Linked DNA regions of Homo sapiens: region 1 is linked to region 2. Evidence: promoter capture Hi-C in 16 types of primary human blood cells and fetal thymus (Javierre and others, 2016). All regions are on one chromosome and are shown on one strand. The core of a region is centred on a gene start or on the middle of the fragment in contact, and the rest is flanking DNA. Distances in the headings are between cores, read along the strand shown.

Evidence for each region. The method cuts DNA at HindIII sites, captures the fragments that hold promoters and counts their contacts. A CHiCAGO score of 5 or more calls a contact.
Region 1: a contact is called between a fragment that was not itself captured here and the fragment with the promoter of GNAS in region 2, in 1 of 17 cell types (naive CD8 T cells). The highest score is 5.7, in naive CD8 T cells.

Annotation. Positions count from the first base shown.
Region 1 is chr20:59,415,506-59,418,749 of GRCh38, forward strand. No RefSeq gene overlaps it. Among named protein-coding and RNA genes, the nearest start is that of EDN3, 120 kb to the left of the region's middle. The HindIII fragment of the contact is 6,355 bases long and covers 1-3,244 here.
Region 2 is chr20:58,890,057-58,892,670 of GRCh38, forward strand. It overlaps GNAS (GNAS complex locus), which reads left to right and starts at 1,365. Exons shown (of 13, transcript NM_000516.7): 1 at 1,365-1,809. The coding sequence starts at 1,671. RefSeq lists silencers at 623-772, 833-1,332, 1,343-1,562, 2,433-2,522. The HindIII fragment of the contact is 29,581 bases long and covers 1-2,614 here.

The DNA.
Region 1 (3,244 bases), core at 278-2,777, 530 kb after region 2:
CATCTGTGAGGGCCATAGGAGAGAAGCAGAGCTGGGCACCCCAGGGAGAGGCGCGGGTGGGCACATGCGGCCCCACCATGAAGAGCCCCGTGTGCCTGGCAAGTAGTTGGCAAGGCCTGTGCTTGGTGGGTTCTGAGCAGGCTCCTACTGTTCTAGACCAAAGCAGGAAAGTTGAAGGCCCACTAGGAGGTAAAATACAATGCCTGATAGGAGAGGGTGGTGCCTGAACTGGAGAAGTCACAGGATGGAGAGAGCAGGTGGAGATGGATTCAGAGGGTTGGGGAATGATTGCATTCTGCAGAGCCAGTGAGGCCCATGGCTGGGATGTTGGGGTGATGGTGATCCAGACAAGAGCTACTCACAGGGAAGTGGAAGGGACAGCGATGAATCTTGCTTCAAAGCACATTCCCTAGGATTGGGTTTTTTAGAGCAGTTTTACATTTAGGGAAAAATTGAACAGAAAGCACAGAGAGTTCCCACACATGCCCCATACCCCTCCCCCAATAATCCTATTTTCATTAACATCTTGCCTTAGCATGCTACACTTGTTACAGTTGATGAACCAATATTGATGCATTATTATCAGTTAAAGTTCATAAGAGGGTTGACTCTTGGTGGTGTACATTCTATGGGTTTTGACAAATGTATAATGTCACGTGCCCTCAATTACAGGATCATACAGAGTCATTTCACTGCCCTAAACATCTCCTGAGCTCCACCTGTTCGTCCCTCCCTCCCCCTTGAACTCCTAACAACCACCGATCTTTTGACGTCTCTATAGTTTTGAATTTTCCAGAATGTCATCTAGTTGGACTCACACAGCATGTGGACTTTTCAAACTGGCTTCTTTTACTTAGCAAGAGGTGTTTTTTTTTTGTTTTTTTTTTTTTATGGAGTCTCACTCTGTCACCCAGGCTGGAGTGCAGTGGCACGATCTTGGCTCACTGCAACCTCCACCTCCCAGCTTCAAACAATTTCCCTGCCTCAGCTTCCTGAGTAGCTGGGATTACAGATGCATGCCACCATGCCCTGCTAATTTTTGTATTTTTAGTAGAGACGGGGTTTCACCCTGTTGGCCAGGTTGGTCTCAAGCTCCCAACCTCAGATGATCCACCTGTCTCAGCCTCCCAAAGTGCTGGGATTACAGGTGTGAGTCACTGCGCCAGGCCAGCAAGATGCTTTTACGGTTCCGTGTATGTCTTTCTGTGGATTGCTGTGTCTTTGAATTTTCAAGGTGCTGTGTTAGTATGATGGTTGTGAAGCCTGAGATGAGAAGAAGCCATGAGACACCAGATAAAGCCATCAGAGGAGCAATGTTTTGCCAACCAATGGCTCAGAGCCCACCCTGTCCCCACCCTGCCACTAGGAACCCTTGCCCAGTTCTAGAGGAGGCAAAATCATGGATGTGTCACTGGCTAATGTCCTTGTCCAAGAGTGACACAAAGGCAGGTAGAGTTTCCCGGAAGACCATGTTACCTGCCTTCATGGGCAGAATAAATTTCTCCTTTACCTATCTAGAGAGTCTTACCCAGGCAGCTCAGAGACCCCTGTGCTCAGGCTGCTCCTGGTGGGGTGAGGGGTAGATGGCAAACACCCAGCCGAGGGTCCTGTCTCCCCTCCCCGTGAGACCCCAGGGCCCCACCATCTGGGGCACGCTGGCTGCTTTCCCTGCCCAGCATGTCCAGCGGGCTGCCTTGATGAGCTCACCCTGGAACATACAGAGCCTCTTCACATGTTTTTCTTTTTCTCTTCTTATTAAAACAATAATAGCTTGACTACAAAACTATTAATCTGGCAGTAAATTATGGGAAATTTATTGCTATGGTTGTTTTTCAAAAATTGGCCATATTATCCCAGAGGAGGTACAATTAAACATTGAAGAATAAAAGTCACAAATGATTTGGACGGCGCCTCTTGTCTGAAGGTTTCAGAGACCGCCTATCCTTTTTCCATCAAATGCTCTGCAGATGGCCTCAGATGCTGAGACGTGGCAGAACTCAGTCCAAGGATAACCATGAAGTTGTCCATGGAATGATTGCGCCTCATTCCTTGCTGTTCCCTGTTGCTCTTGCAGCCTCCTGTTTGTGTTTCAGAGCATGCTTATTGTGTGGTAGGAACTAGGAGCCAACAGGGTTCCTAAAGGTAGCTTGATCTTGACCAGCGGGCTTCCAGTACAGTCAAGATATTGCCAGAACCGCCAGGAATTGGGTAACTGATGAGAGAAGAGAAGAAAATCTTGTAAATAGAAATGCCGAAGATGGTGAGAAAATGAGAGAAAGAATGACAGTGTAGGTTAAAGAGGGTCCCAATGACAGAATCCTCCCAAAATATGTTCAAAGAGGGAAAAGTACACTTGGATTCTGGAGAAGAGGGTTCTTTACTGTGCCTGGGGTCGTGGTAGTCATAGCAATCTGGGACAGGGTGTCTACATATTTGGGGCCCTGGGATCGTGCAGAATCATGGAGAGTATAATCCCAAATAAAGGCGCTGGACAACACCACTTGTAGATTTCAGGGAAGGAGAGAGATGGCAGCCACTGGTGTGGTCCAGTGCAAAGAGTGGCTGAAGGTCTTAGGTAGGGGAGATGCTCCCCAAAAGAGCAGGCACTGGGGAGGAGTGTCCTGTGGTTGTAGCCAAGGTGAAGTGGAGACAAGTTTGAGTAGATGCTGGGGGTCTTGAAAGCCACCCAGAGAATGTCATTTGTTCATTCCTTCCACCCACATCCACTGGGCACCCACTATATGCCAAGCACTGTGCAGGGCAGAGAGCAAACCCTGCCTTGGGCCATTCAGGCTTTGTTCTGTAGGCAGAGCCATGGAGAGCTGATGAGTGACGGAGGGCCAAGGTGACTCTGGGTTCTAGAGAGACGCTCCAGGCACACTTCTTCCCTTCACCCGGTCATGTTTCCTGACCTCACATCTGGTGTTATCTTTGTGGGGAAGAATTCTTCGTCTCCCTGTCTCATCCCAACTCAGGATGGGTTCCTTGGAGTAGGCGTGGAGACCGTCTATCCAGACCATCCCCTGGATGGACCTTGATTTGTGCAGGAGGGGCTCCATGAACATCCTAGCCCCATGAGCCTGCTTTGGACGTCTGCAGATCCAGGTTAGAGTCCAGGCTTTGCCTCCAGCTCCCCCCATGACAGAGCAAGTCATTTAGTGCCCTGGATTCTAACAGTAGCAGCAGCAGCAGCAGCAGCTCTCACCAGGGCAGTGTTCAGACTCATTCATTCCTTTCTCTTTCA
Region 2 (2,614 bases), core at 115-2,614:
CAAGAACCCGGCGCGGGAGGCGCTCCCCGAAAAGTTCCTAACAGACAAGGAGCGCAAGAAGCTCGAGAAGAAGCTGCTGGAGCAGAGGCGAAAGGAGGAGAAGAAGAAGGAGAAGGAGAGGAAGAAGATGGAGAAGATGCTGAAGAAGAAGAAGAAGAAGGTGCCAGAAGCCCAGGAGGAGGCCCGATGCCCCGAGGCCGCCGCCGCCGCGGCCGCCGCCGACGACGACGAGGGCGCCGAGGAGGGCGCCGTCGGGGGCGCCGAGGAGGGCGCCGCCGCCGGGGGCACGAGTAGGGCCTGGGCTGACTGGGACACGGACTCGAGCGACGAGGACGACGCCTACTACGCGGCGCCGCGCGTTGGGGGCATCGTGTGGCGGCCCGGGCCGCTCAAGGCTGGCGCGCTGAGCGCCCACCTGCCCCTCGTGGTGTTCCTGGTCTTCTCGGTGCGCAGCCCCTCGTGGGTGCTCAACTTCCTGCTGCAGAAGCGCACGGAGCAGGGCCGCGGCTGCGGCTTCGTGTTCGGGGCGACCTGCTGCTTCCGAGTGTTCCTGGGCTGCGCCTTCTTCTCCTACTTGGGCGGCCGCGCCAAGCGCAGAGGCCGCGGGCGCTCCGGGGCCAGAGGCGCCTTCGGCTCGGGCCATGGCGCCCGGCGCCGGGGGCGCGAGGAGCGGCTCATCTAGTCAGACCCCCCACCCCGCCACCGCCACCAGACACCACCATCGCTGTGTAGTGTGGGTTTTTATTCGTGTTCGTGTGTGTGTGTGGACACATTTTCCTTTTCGGTTGCTCTGTCCTTTGGTTCGTGCTCGCCTCGCTTTTTCCACACTCCTGCTCTCTGGCTCTCTGTGTCTCTCGCTCTTTCGAAAATTTTCCTAAGTCCGGGCGCGCGCTCCCTCCCCTTCCGCCCACCCCAGCCCCTCGGCGGCGCCCGCGGGAGGGGGAGGAGGCCTCGGGGGCGCCGGGCGACGCGGTCCGGGGGGTGGAGCGTTGGCGTCGTGCGAGGGGTCGTCACTGGCGCGGAGACGCCCCCTCTCCCCCCTCGGCTCAGCCGGGCTGCTGCCCGAGCCCGGGGGGTGGGGGGCGTCTCCCCGGCCCGTCCCGTCCCCGGCCGGGCGCGGGCGGAGGGACCCCCTCCCCGGGCTCCCGGGGGGCCGCCTCCCTCCGCCGGCTCCCGCCCTCCCAGCCGCCGCCGCCGCCGCGGCCGCTCCTCGGCCCTCCTCCTCCTCCTCCTCCTTCCACCCCCCTCGCCGCCGCCGCCTCCTCCTCCCCCCGCCTCCCCCCGCCCGCCGCGGCGCTTTTGGCTCGGGGCGGCGGCGGGGGCCCGGCCGAGGCAATAAGAGCGGCGGCGGCGGCAGCGGCGGCAGCAGCTCCCGCAGCTCCTGCTCTGGTCCGCCTCGGCCCGGCGGCGGCCATCAGCCCCCTCGGCCTCGGCTCGAGGGGCGGGGAGCTGCGCGCGCCCCTCGGTCCGACCGACACCCTCCCCTTCCCGCCCGTCCGCGCGCCCCGCGGCCCGCGGCCCGCAGTCCGCCCCGCGCGCTCCTTGCCGAGGAGCCGAGCCCGCGCCCGGCCCGCCCGCCCGGCGCTGCCCCGGCCCTCCCGGCCCGCGTGAGGCCGCCCGCGCCCGCCGCCGCCGCAGCCCGGCCGCGCCCCGCCGCCGCCGCCGCCGCCATGGGCTGCCTCGGGAACAGTAAGACCGAGGACCAGCGCAACGAGGAGAAGGCGCAGCGTGAGGCCAACAAAAAGATCGAGAAGCAGCTGCAGAAGGACAAGCAGGTCTACCGGGCCACGCACCGCCTGCTGCTGCTGGGTAAGGGCGGGCGGGGGGCGCCGGCCCCGGCCCGGGGGCCCTCGAAGGGCGCCCCGCAGGCCGCGCGCGCCGAGCCCGCCCCCCGCCCCGGGCGCGCGCTCCCGAGCCCCCCGCCCGTTCGCGGGCTCTGTCTGTGGGGGGCGAGGCCGGAAGGGGGACCCAGGGGCGCGGATTCGGCCGGGCGGGGGCTCAAAAACGGGGCGGGGGGCCGTGGCGACGCGGGCGCGGGTCCCCCTCCCCCGGCCTGCCCGCTCAGTGTCTCTCTCTTGCTCTCGCTCTCGCTCTCCCCCTCTTTCTCTCTTTCTCTCTTTTTCCGCGAGGCCTACACGACGCCAGGGGTTTGGGTGCGTGTTGGGGAGGGGGAGGGGGAGCCCATGGGGCTCCGGAGACTGCGACAAAAAGAGGGTTTCGGGGACAGGAAACCGGGTGGCGGGTAGAGGGAGGGGGACCCGCCTCCGTGGGGTGTGAGATTTGTTGGGAGAGGGAAAGAGGGGAAGAAAGGGGCGAGGAGAGGAGGGGGTGACGCTGGGGGGCGCCGTGGTGGCGGAGGGGGCCTCGCCAAAGGGAGGCTTTGGCGGGGAGAAGTGGCCGAGGAGAGTGGGGGGGCTGGTGACATCAGCCCCTCGGAAAGGATCGGAGCGGTAAAGGTGGTGCAGTGGGGGGGAGGGGGCGCAAGGGAGTCGTGGCGCCGGAGTCGGGAGGGGGGCGGCGAGGGGAGGAGGGAGGGCGGTTGCCGCTGGGCGCGACTTGGTGCGTTTCGGGCAGGACCGACTGACTGTGTGTGCGCGGAGCAGACGTGTCCCGG